Regions from separate parts of the Homo sapiens genome. Here all the other regions are linked to region 4. Evidence: promoter capture Hi-C in 16 types of primary human blood cells and fetal thymus (Javierre and others, 2016). All regions are on one chromosome and are shown on one strand. Each heading gives the region's core, a stretch centred on a gene start or on the middle of the fragment in contact. The rest is flanking DNA. Distances are from core to core; before and after follow the strand shown.

Evidence for each region. Contacts are between HindIII fragments. The CHiCAGO score rates a contact against its expected background, and 5 or more counts as called.
Region 1: a fragment that was not itself captured here is called in contact with the fragment with the promoter of LEO1 in region 4 in 1 of 17 cell types (total B cells); the score reaches 5.1 in total B cells.
Region 2: a fragment that was not itself captured here is called in contact with the fragment with the promoter of LEO1 in region 4 in 1 of 17 cell types (endothelial precursors); the score reaches 5.7 in endothelial precursors.
Region 3: a fragment that was not itself captured here is called in contact with the fragment with the promoter of LEO1 in region 4 in 1 of 17 cell types (naive CD4 T cells); the score reaches 5.2 in naive CD4 T cells.

The regions. Positions count from the first base shown.
Region 1 is chr15:52,361,782-52,364,835 of GRCh38, forward strand. MYO5A (myosin VA) reads right to left here. Exons shown (of 42, transcript NM_001382347.1): 24 at 2,773-2,921. Among named protein-coding and RNA genes, the nearest start is that of MYO5C, 68 kb to the left of the region's middle. The HindIII fragment of the contact is 217 bases long and covers 1,322-1,538 here.
Region 2 is chr15:52,243,062-52,246,062 of GRCh38, forward strand. MYO5C (myosin VC) reads right to left here. Exons shown (of 41, transcript NM_018728.4): 17 at 2,895-2,981; 18 at 2,293-2,404; 19 at 1,295-1,506. Among named protein-coding and RNA genes, the nearest start is that of MIR1266, 33 kb to the right of the region's middle. The HindIII fragment of the contact is 4,253 bases long and covers 1-3,001 here.
Region 3 is chr15:52,259,688-52,262,488 of GRCh38, forward strand. It overlaps MYO5C (myosin VC), which reads right to left. Exons shown (of 41, transcript NM_018728.4): 10 at 1,175-1,440. Among named protein-coding and RNA genes, the nearest start is that of MIR1266, 16 kb to the right of the region's middle. RefSeq lists an enhancer at 513-1,088. The HindIII fragment of the contact is 2,769 bases long and covers 1-2,682 here.
Region 4 is chr15:51,970,170-51,973,428 of GRCh38, forward strand. It overlaps LEO1 (LEO1 component of Paf1/RNA polymerase II complex), which reads right to left and starts at 1,609. Exons shown (of 12, transcript NM_138792.4): 1 at 1,519-1,609. The coding sequence starts at 1,576. It also overlaps a transcript of MAPK6 not described here. RefSeq lists enhancers at 726-1,302, 1,126-1,655, 1,303-1,878. The HindIII fragment of the contact is 6,227 bases long and covers 1-2,350 here.

The sequences.
Region 1 (3,054 bases), core at 180-2,679, 390 kb after region 4:
ATACGTTTTTCAATTACAAGGATATATATTTGACTGGATCATCACGTTCTCCTTCAAGATCTGCACCTCCCTCCTCTTCTGCTCCTGATTTCTCCCATGATTCCTTCTTTTCCAGAACATGTTTTATCCCTTTGTCAAGACTAACGACCCCATGATTGACATGCTGGTTTCCCTCCCCTCTCTGGAATTAATTTATCTTTAAACACTTCATAAACCTGGATGCCCATGCCTCATGATCTTTTCATCATTGGCTTGAAACTCCTTAGCCCTGGATTGGTCCTTCCTCTTTGCCTCTGCCCCTATATTCCCTGGACAACCGAATGTTCTTGGAGAAAAATGCTACAGTACTTCTTGTACTAGGGCCAACAACTCTAGAGGCTGGCAATGAGTGACACTATTAGTGTTCTTTGGCCCATGTATCACATAGGTTATGGGAAGCGCTGGAGGCAGTGTATCAAGTCCCCTCCCTAGAGTTTCCTCCATTCATATGACGACTCTGTTTACAACCAAATGCTTCATTAGCTCTGGATTGAAGCAGTGAGAGTGTCATTTACAGAACAGCGTCAGTCTAATATTAGTCAAGTACTCATCTGTTAGCTGTTTAGTTGTACCTAAACATTAAAATAAGATATTGTCACTAATATTTTAATTGTCATGGGTTAAAAGATCAAGTTTTTTATTCTCTGCAATTCTGGGCAAATATTTTCTGCAAAAACTGTCATCTTGATTATATCTGGAGCTAGGAAAAGGAGATCTAGTGAAGAAATGAGTGGGAAGCAAGTGAGCTCTGATCTCCCTTCCTCTGCTTTCTCCTTTTCCCTTCCTCTGACCATTTTGTCTCCCAAGAGGAATGACTGAGTCACAGGCATACAATGGAGAGGACACATGACTGAGAAATAAGAAATTGAGCAACTAAAACTACCTCTAGAGCACTGCTGGGAACAGATGGAGAGCAGGCAGACTTGCTTAGCAGGAAGGAGGAGCCGTGTCAAGCTGCTGGAGGAGGCGTCACTGGAGGACCTTTCTAGAAATGGCCACCTCCTCGACTAAAGAGACCCATGACCTCCTCACAGATGGATATCTCTGGAATATGCTCAGAGAGGGATACATGTATGGCACCTGCTTCTCTCATTTTATTTTCTGAAATTCATATTGCATGCACCATTAAAGAATCCAAGAAATTCTCCAGAAAAGACATTTGTTTATCTCTGTTTAACCTAGTAGATTACCACATTTATTTTACCTAAGAATTTCTTTTCCAATCCCACTTATTAACATCCCAAATAACTAGGGGGTCTCAGAAACACCTACTGGGTTATAAAGCTTAGCTCTAACCATAACTGAAACAGAGATTAACCATAAATGTTGGCATTGTCATCTAATAAATAGAGTGAACAAAAACACACCAAAGAATGGAACTGGGGAACATGAACACTGAAAAAGAAGAAAAGGATTCAAGAGAAAGCTAAGAATTACAGAATGTGAAGGAAGAAAGGTTTCAATGGGACCAACGGTAGCACGGTGATCTAGGAAGATGAAGCTTAACAAGGGTCTTTAGATTTGTCAATTATAAGAACAGTTATAATGGTGACTTGCATCTACTTCTAATTTCTCTTTGTCACACATAAATCAGAGTAGTGAGGGTTGAAATAATGGTCCAATGTGGGATTTATATTAGCTTTTTGGTCTCTTTTAGACAGGATTTTCTCATCTGCAAGGTGATGAGAGCCTATCTTTTGTATTACACAATCTCTTTTATTTTGACTTTTAAGTGTCATATTGTAATGAACTTTGTCAGTAGGTCCAGATAGAAGCAAAATTTGAAGAAAATACTCTGCTCCACAGATACTGAATTATCTGGCTTTTTATGAGATATTTCAGGGCATTTCTGGTCATTTGTATAATTAGGTTACCTTTAAGGCTGGTACTTGTAGGGATGCTTGGGAACTCTTTGTTTCCTGATAGCAGGATACATGGAATGGGGAGGATGTGCAGAATTATTACAAGTATGAAAGGTACATTGGCAAATGCAGAAGAGTCCTTGAAATAGATAATTCATTACAAATGGAGTCTGAATTTTCTTTTCATAGGAATATATCTTCAAAATTATAATCAAAACCAGTCTACATGTAAATTTTACATTAGGCCATTCAATATATAAAACAAAGTCCAACTGGCCGGGCGCAATGGCTCATGCCTGTAATCCCAGCACTTTGGGAGGCCAAGGTGGGTAGATCATGAGGTCAAGAGATCGAGACCATCCTGGCCAACATGGTGAAACCCCATTTCTACTAAAAATACAAAAAATTAGCTGGGCATGGTGGTGGGCACCTGTAGTCCCAGCTACTCGGGAGGCTGAGGCAGGAGAATCACTTGAACCTGGGAGGCGGAGGTTGCAGTGAGCCGAGATTGTGCCACTACACTCCAGCCTGGTGACACAGGGAGACTCCATCTCAAAAAAAAAAACAAAAACAAAAACAAAAATCCAACTTTACTGACTTTATACTATCACATAGCCCAGTCTTTAAACTGTTTGACTTTACCGAAGTACTTGTGAATAAAATTATATGATTTCTAAGATTTGCTTTAAAATAATCCAATCCATTGGATGGAGTGGGTTGGGGAGATGGAATGGGAGGTGAATATGTGTTGAACATTCTGGAACTGGGTGGTAGGTACACAGAAGATATGGAGGTTCATTCTACTATTCTATTTACTTTTGTATATGTTTAAAATTTTTCATTAAAAAAAAAACAAAAGTGTTTGACTCACCACCATAAGGGTCATCTCTTCCTTGAGGTCATCATATCTTTCTTCCAGGCGACTGAACTCATTCAGAAGGTTCTGATATCTCAGCCTTTCATCATTAAGGTCGAGTTCCAGTTGTTTCGTTTCTTCTACTAACTTCTTCTCCATAGTTTCTGAAATTAAAAAAAGGATATGCATACTAAAGATGGCCCCTTGAGAATGCAATTGTGTAAACATGTATACTGATTTCCAGTTTCTCTGTAGGCAATTTTACTTTTAGTATCACTGTGATCCATGAAGAGTGTC
Region 2 (3,001 bases), core at 96-2,595, 270 kb after region 4:
CTGGGTATGAATGACCAGACAAGTGTGGCCCCTGCCCTCATGGAGCTTCCATTCTTATGAATGCACCCAGGCTATGGAGGGCTTTGAATATCACGTCAGAGACTGAATGCTATTCTGTAGGAAACACGGGCCTTAAAGGCAGGTGCAGGGCAGTGTCTCAATCAGGCTCTGATGTAGGAAGATGGGAAGGAGGTGGGAGGTGGAGCACGGTGCCATCAGAGTGCAAGGCAGGTGATGCCGTGAGCCTAAACTGGGGGCAGGAGTGGGATGAAATGAATGGGATAGGCAGGAGGCCAGCAGGGCAGGATGATCAGGCTCTGGTGAGCCCCAAATGGGAAGGGAGCGTGGCCTTGGCGGGTAAGATAACTGTGATTTCCTTCCCCAAAGACTGCTGTTATCAACTGGGCACAGAAGCACAGGAGGGCAAGCCAGCCCAGCTGTGTGATCCATGCCACACCACGCTGGTCATGCAGAGAAGGCCAGATGCTGCCACAGTTCAGCCTCCAGCTCAGGAAGAAGTCAGGCTTGCAGACGCAGCCTGACCCTAAACGCCGGCCTTCTCAAGCATCCTCACAGCATCCCAAAGAAGGGGCAGAGCAGGCAGAGAGAAACACAAAGTTTATCTAGGGGCACCCTGGTCTTGTGCTTTCCAGCAGGTACACCAAAGCCCTGGAAGTCCCGGAATGACCGTGGTCCTTCAGTGGGCTGGCAGGGTTGTGTGGACTCTCAGGACCCCTCGAGGCAGGTAGGATCAGCGCAGCTGGTGGACCACCCTCCCCTCAGCCCTTGGCTTGGCTGGGGCTGCTGTGGTCTTCCTGCTTAGGGGTTCTGTGATTGGTTTGCTGCCAGGCCTTGCAGGGACCCCCTCTGCCATGGTGCACCCCACCTGTTGCTGGCAGGCTGGTCGCTGGCTATTCTTGACATCTGTCCTTTGGATCTTCACTAGGGCCTTGCTGATCTTATGCATTTTCAGTTCCCATAGGAAAGGGGCCCCGGGCCTCTCCCTGAGCTTCCGGAACCCTGACTCTCCTTAGTAACACTCTCACCAGCGCTTCCTCCCTGCAGGGCCCTGGGTGTCGGCTCACCACACAGACACCAGGCAGAGCCAGCACTACCTGCCCCTGAGAGACGGACCTTTCTTGCCCTAATGCTCACGACCACAAAGGGGACCCATGCACGTCTGCACCCTGGGTCACAGGAGAAAGGTCCCTTGTCCTTGATGAGTCCTCCCCGCCGGAGATGATCAGCACAGAAAGCCCCACAGTTCCACATGTGTTCCTTGATTCCAACATACCTCACAGTTTGCTGACCCCGGAAGTACTGCTGGATTATCAGGGCGGCTCGTCTCTCTCGGAGGAATTTTTTCCTCTGGAGCCAGCCACGCATGTGCTTTTGTACCATAACACAACTCTGCCTCAGTTTATCCAATCGAAGTTTCTCTAAATAAGCCACTTGTCCTGCTCTGAAGAAAATTTTGGTTTTACCAAACTGGTACTGATTAGAATCCTGGAAGAGAAAAATGATATAGTTAGAATTAAAATCTGTCAGATTTTCTATAATACAGTATTTGGAAAAGAGCTTTAGGGATTCAAAGGTGCCAGAAATATTGTGATTTTGACATTTAAGGCAGAAAACTCACATCATGATCTAGAAATGTATACTTTGAGTTGTTTGTTTAAAATTACCCTGGAGGAAGAAATGGGACTTAGGCTGAGGAATCCATTTGTGGGTGAGAAGGGGAGTGAGTGTCATTTGCGGCGATTCTCAGTTGGGCTGCCAGAGAACTTCAGCCACTCTCTCGTGGTCTCCACATTGGAGTAGAAGAAACTGGGGAAGTTTGGTTTTCTGTCTCCATTTTGGGTTCTCTTCACCATCCCCTTTGCTGGACCTTATAACTCCCCATCTCTTTCCCATCACAACTCATCGCTGCAGCAATGATGTCAATCCACACAAGGCACCATGCCTGGAGCCCATGTGGCTTGGTGACAACCCCAGTTGACCATATCCTATAAGCCTGGTCCACAGAGGACTGGGTTAGATCGTGGGAGAGCTAAACAGGATACGAGGACACTGGGGAGGCCGGAGTTCGGATGTGGGTCCCTAACGGGGACTCATGGCCCACTGAGCACTCTGCTATGGTCTCTTCAGCAGACAAATGCTCAGGGCACATTTTCTTTCCTTTCAGGTGTTCATGATTACAGTCCTGAGCATTCAAGACAAAGATGAAACAGCATGTTTGGGAGATGTGCTTCCAGGAAGGAGACCATGATCCCAGGAGGTGGGGAAACTGACCTGGATGAGTCTGTGTAAAACCACCTTGCACACCTCCTTTTTATCGCTGAAGGAAAGCTCTTGCTTGGTCATGAGAATGCCGTAGCGACTGTAGAACTCGATGTATGTCCACCTGGAAAATCAAAGGGGATCAAAGCCAGGAGTGTCAGAGGAAGCACATTGTGTCTGGGGACTCCGCTGCCTTACCTGCCACTGTTGTCATAGGGCGGGGGTGGTGCAATCTGTCCTGAGGATAAAGGCACTGATCTTTGATACCCTGCCTGCCTGGGACACTACCAAGACCACCCTGAGCACTCCTGTCTGCCCCAGCAATTGTGCTCTTTCTCCCACTCAGCGTCTTCCCTAGTACACGGGGGAGGCGGTGGGGCCACCACCAGCAGCCGAGATGCAGTGATGGGGTGAGAAGGTGGTGTTGACCTCCGACCCCTACAAAGCCTATTTCTCAACCTCTTCTGGACTTCCACAGGGCAGTGGGAAAATCTTGGGGGCACTTTACAGAAGCCAAAAGTATGTGACAAAAATCATGGCAGCCATGTCCTTGGTTCTCAGCATAGCTCTGATGTCAGGTACTTTTCCCTCCAAGACAAGGACGGACAACATACCTGGAAGGGTAGCTCTGTGCACTAATGCGAATCGTTTCTAAAACGCCGCAGGCTCGCAGCTGCTGAACAATTCTTTTGGAGTCAAATCTTTAAAAAGACAATGATAT
Region 3 (2,801 bases), core at 48-2,547, 290 kb after region 4:
TATAACTGTTGACACGTACTATTAATTGGGAGCCATATGTATTAACTTAGGATCTAAATTAAACAAAGCAGCTCCCTTGACTGTCTCCCATTTGACAGCTATGGGAAAAGCTGCCTCTCCACCTGGGTGCAAGTCCAACAGCGTGGTGTGGCCCTGTCCCCCTCCTCCCCAGGAGGCAGCAGCAGGGCCGTGAAGGCCAGAGCTCAGCTCTCCCCTTTGCATGGGGAATGGGGTTGAGCTGCTTTTTGCCATGGTGTGGGGAAGATCCCCCAATCCAGGTGGAACACTCCAGGATGCCTTTCATGGGTCAATCTTCCCCTTCTCCTGTTAAGAAACCAGGGTGGGTCCCAGGAGAGGGGCAAGGGCTGGGCACTGGGGCCAGCTGCTAGAAAAGCCTGAAGGATAACAATCTCCACAGAGCCCTCCATGCCAGCTTCCACTCTGGTTACTCCATAGCTGTTTCAGCACGAGCTGAGCCCGGGGTTTAGAAAAGGAGGACCAGGCAGAGAGAATGAAAAAGAACCCAACTCCAGGGTGGGATGAAGGGTAAGACCTCCTGGAGGAGGGCTGGGGAAAATCCAAGACCTTCTCACCCAAGAACGGAAAAGGATTGGGGTAGGGGGGTGGTTGATCAGAGACCTGGGTTCAGTCCACCTCTGGCCGCTGGGCTTGGGCAAGGTGCAAGCCTAGGTGACTTGTCATCCCCTGTGATTCGAATGGGAAGGGACCTTGGGGCTCCACACCTCAGGGGCCTTTGGTGGGAAAAGCAAAAGCAGGAGCCTCACAACTGTGCTGGGTTCTCCCACCAGCGGAGCAATTGTGACGAAGTTATTGAGTCTTTCTAAGCCTTGGTTGTTGCAGCTCTACAACGGGGATAGTTATAAGGTTGTTTAAGAAATTAAGTGAGAAAGCCCATGGAAGCCAAGCAGCCTCAGAGCTGGCACACAGTAAGCTCTTGACATTGGTCATTCCTAATTCAGCATCTCTTTAATGCACTTTGAATAAATGGCACCATAGCCCAGGAGAGTGTACTTAGCATCTATAGGGGCAAAAGCAGAGAATGTTATCTTTCTAATCATGTGAAATACAAAAGAACCAGAACAAAATGATCTAAAAACCATGCGGCTCTCAACATTTAAAGGAGGAAAGACAGGCTCACTGAAGAGAATCTTACCCATAAATGTCCAAAACACCAATAAAAGTGTGCTGCTTGCCTGAAAACTGCAACGCTTGGTTAATTCTCTCCACAATGAAGTCGAACAGGTGAGCATAGATCTTTTTGGCCAGTGCATCCCTGGCGTTGACAGCCTGAGGCCTGGTCATGGGTTTTACCACCGTCTCAGAGCTTGTGACGATTTTGCGATTGCACAGCCACTGAGCAACTCTGCCACTCTCCAGGCCCAGGAGCTCACAGAACACCTTCAGGTGACTGTCATCCTCCTTCAAAAACAAGCACAAGCCCCGTCAGGTGGCCCAGCCATCCAAAGACACACAATCCCACCCGGCCAAGGCCCCCGTGCCCACACTCAGGCCTGTGCAAGAGCTGAGTAGTAGCTGGCACAAGGACGCCCAGCCTCAGGAGGTGGAGATAGACCTGGGAGTAGAGCAAGGGGGCTACAGCAGCACGGGTCCTGCACCTGGCCCTTGGCAGACCACCCCTGCAGCAATGCCAGGGAGTCCAGGGCTGCGTCCCACGCTGATTTTTCATTTTAACCAAAGAATGTCAGCGGTGACTAAGGCCATAGAGGCCACCCTCTCTAGACCCTGCCCTGTTCCTGTGGATGTGGATGCAGCCCTCTCTCTTCCCTTTGAACCATCCTGGGCCACTTGTCAGAGTGTGCACTCACCCTGCCCCACCTCGTGTGGCCAGGGGTTTGCCTGGATGGTTGGTCCAGGAGGTACCCAGGTGTTGCTGCCAGGCAGAAGCTGGTGGGAGTCCCATGGCTGAGCTAGTGCCTCAGCTGACACGAGGGCTGGGGTGGGACTTTTCCTGAATACACAAAGTGAAATCTTGCTTCTCCCCCAAGCCAGGGCATGAGAGCTGCCCCGCTGGTCAGCAGATGAAAAAAGGGAAGAGGTGCTCCCATTTCCCTTCAGCCAGTGTGGACAAAGGGCTCCTGTCCTCAGGCAAGGATGTGACTCCCAGCTCCTCTCTCAGGCAGGAGAACTCCCAAGGCAGGCTCCCCTGCCGGCACCATTCCAGCCCACCAGGAAATCTACATGATTGCACTAAAAAGCCTCAGGACACAGTGTAGGAAGCCATGGAAACAGTCCTGCCCCTCCCTGCGCTCTACCCACACCCCCTGCTGACCAATATCACAGTAACACAGAGCTGGCTTTGACGTGCCTGACCTTATAAGGGAAGGGACTGGCAGTGGCATTTGGTTTCCTTCCTTCTAAGAAAGAATGAAACCTTCTGAGTCAAAAACAATTCAGCTGCAGGTGCTGCTATGGGAAAAAAATGCAAAGGGGCGGCAGCTTTTCAAAAAGTCAGATGGCTTTGTCCAAATTTAACGTGTCCAACATTTCAAGTTCCTGATACAAATGGGTGGAGATGGATCCCAAATCTAGGACCAATAATTATAGGACTGGGAATTTTCTACAAATATTCTTAGAAGCCTTTCCAAAGGATTTTCAGTCAATCAATTTTAATTCCTCCTCCAAAATGCTACCTTAATAAGAAGCTTCACGGGAGAGGGCTCAGTGTGATGGCATTTGTTGGGTAGAAATCACATTTTTAATCTATGGGGGTTTGGGGAAAAAAGGGCAGAAGCCCAGCTTCTCTGAGGTAACTGAGCAAG
Region 4 (3,259 bases), core at 359-2,858:
TTTTGGAGACAGAGTCTCACTTTATCACCCAGGTTGAAGTGAAGTGATGCAATCTCAGCTCACTGCCAACCTCTGTCTCCTGGGTTCAAGTGATTCTCATGCCTCAGCCTTCTGAGTACCTGGGACTACAGGCACGCACGACCACACCTGGCTAACAGTTTGTATTTTTAGTAGAGACAGGGTTTCACCATGTTGCCCAGGCTGGTCTTCAACTCCTGAGCTCAGGCAAATCCGCCTGCCGGAACCAGGAATGTTTACAGTAGCACTATTCAAACAACCCAATGTCCATCAACAGATAAATGGATTAACAAATTTAGGGTGTGCACATTCAATGGAATATTATTAAATCATTAAAAATGAATAAAGTACTGATATGTGCTACAATGCCTTGAAGACATTATGCTAAGTAAAAGAAACCAGACACAAAAGACCACAATGCATGATTCAATTTATATGAAATTCCCAGAACAGATAAGTACAGAAACAATAGCAGACAGGGGTTGGAGGAAGGAGCATATGAGGAGTAAGTGCTTTATGAACAGTGTTTTATTTGGGGGTGATGAAAATAACAACTAGATATATGTTGTCTACAAGAGACTCACTTTACTTGGAGCCTAGAGGGTTGCAAGAATTCTGAACTTGGTCTTGGGTTCTCACTTCAAATAGCTCCTATTCATATTTCAAGTGCCCGTAGTCTCAACTACTTGGAGGCTGAGGCAGAAGGATGGCTTGAGCCCAGAAGTTCAAGGCCAACCTGAGCAACACAGTGAGACCCTGTCTCTAAAAAAGTAAACTTTAAAAAAACACCCACAATCCTGTGCCAGAAATAACTTCCAAGCAGCATGCACATACACTAATTCATTCATTTCATCAACAAATCCTTCATTCCTCCTCTCTGTACACAGACCCCATGCACTCCCCAATCTAACATCACAGACTCCGGAAATTCTGGAGTTTCTGCACAAGCTCTTAGAGAACACATTCTCTCCTATGTGAAACATCTATCTGTAACCCCATCCCATTATCCGTCCCAGACTCGTCATCCAGACATCTCAAGCTCCCTATCACACCATGCTCTGGTTTCATTCAAGACGGCATTCTGAGGCCCTCTGTAAATTCGCCCACCCCATCCCATATTCCTGCATTCATTTCCATTCATTCAAAAACAGCCCTTACTCTACGCTGGCCTGTGCAAGGCAAGGCGGAACAGGACTCCAACGTTCCTACCCGCGCTGCGCAGGCTCGCCTGCACTTCCACCCATGCCCCGCGCCCCTTTCGCTCCACAAGCTCCCAGGAACCGTCTGCTCCACCGACACCCAGAGCCTCGAGGCGCAGACTGTCTGACTCTCCATCCTGCCCGCCGGAGGAGGATGGCACCTCCGGGAGTGCAGGGGGCGCTGAGGCAGGAGTGGAGGAAACGCCACCTCTTGCCCGCGGCGCTGGAGCCTCCACGGTTGTCCGGCTCCCACAGCGGAAGGCCTGCCACGCACCCATCCTCCGAAGACCAGCGAACCCACCTTTACGCTCAGCTTCGCTGTCGGCGTCGCTCCCGAAGAGATCCTCCATATCCGCCATTATCGCTCACGTCCGCTGCTGCCTCGGTTAGGGGCAGCTCCCGGCCTCTCTTTACGGCACGGAACCACTGAAACACGACAGTGTCGCAAAGATTCGCCGAAGACACTCCTTTCCTTACGTGACCTAGTTTTCGCTCGCCCAGTGAACCTGTTCTCGCCTGGGTATGCATGGTATATAAGCCCGGCCATTTCGTCAATATCTGTTATTTGCCAGGATTCTTACCAGGGGGCGGGGGGGTCCTGCGTTCGGTTGCGGGTGTGGATGGGGTGGGCGGTGACTGGCGCTCTCTGGGGAAGGGCCTCTGGCTGGATTAAACCTATCGCGAGTCAGGATTGAAGCCCTTTGTTTCTTACTGAGCAGCTGTTCTCCAGTTATTTCATCCCAAACCCCTTTACCCTCTTAAAAATTGTTGAGACGGAGTCTCGCTCAGTCGCCCAGGCTGGAGTGCAGTGGCGCGATCTCGGCTCACAGCAACCTCCACTGTCCGGGTTCAAGCAATTCTAATTCCTCAGCCTCCCGAGTAGCTGGGACGACAGGCGCCCGCCACCACACCCGGCTAATTTTTTGTATTTTAGTAGACACGGGGTTTCACCGTGTTGCCCAGGCTGGTCGCAAACTCAGGAGCTCAGGCAATCCGCCCGCCTCGGCCTCCCAAAGTGCTGGGATTACAGGTACGGGTATTGATATTTACTGTATTCTTACTAATACGGTAATAAATTTTTAAGTTACTAATTCATTTAAAAATAATATACATGTTAACAAACAGCTTTTTTAAGCTTTAAATGACCATTTTTTTGGCCGGGCGCGGTCGCTCACGCCTGTAATCCCAGCACTTTGGGAGGCCGAGGCGGGTGGATCACGAGGTCAGGAGATCGAGACCATCCTGGCTAACACGGTGAAACCCCGTCTCTACTAAAATAAAAAAAATTAGCCGGGCGTGGTTGTGGGCGCCTGTCGTCCCAGCTACTAGGGAGGATGAGGCAGGAGAATGGCGTGAACCCAGGAGGCGGAGCTTGCAGTGAGCCGAGATCGCGCCACTGCACTCCAGCCTGGGCACGAGACTCCATCTCAAAAAAATAATAATAATAAAATAAAATAATTAAAAATAAAAACATTAGCCAGGCATGATGGCATGCATTTGTAGCCCTAGCTACTCAGGAAACTGAGAATGGAGGATCACTTGAGCCCAGGAGTTGGAGGCTGCAGTGAGCTATGATCACGCCACTTCACTCTAGCCTGAGTGACAGAGTAAGGCTCTGTTTCTTAGAAGAAAAAGTGAGAAAAGAGTACATCCTGTGTTACATTACCTAATTAGGCCATTATGAGAGTTTTGGTCTTGGACAAGCAACAATGAATATTTAGTTTGGAGATTATATGATATATATTTTTGTAGTAAACTTCAGTGCTTAACAGGGTCCAAATGGGTGGGACTGGGTATGTAATCATCAATCCTAGAGCTTTTGTGTATGAAGCGGATGTTGCAAGAGAAGATACATAGATAACCTGAAAACTATCTGGAATACTGGAAAAACAAGTATTCCATTTGACAGTGATTCAGTTTCATTTTCATTTAGAGTACTGTCCCTGAAAAGTACTTTGATTAAATTTATTTTCTTTTGATACAGTGTCTCTGTTGCCTAGGCTGGAGCGCAGTGGCGCCATCATAGCTCACTGCAGCCTCAA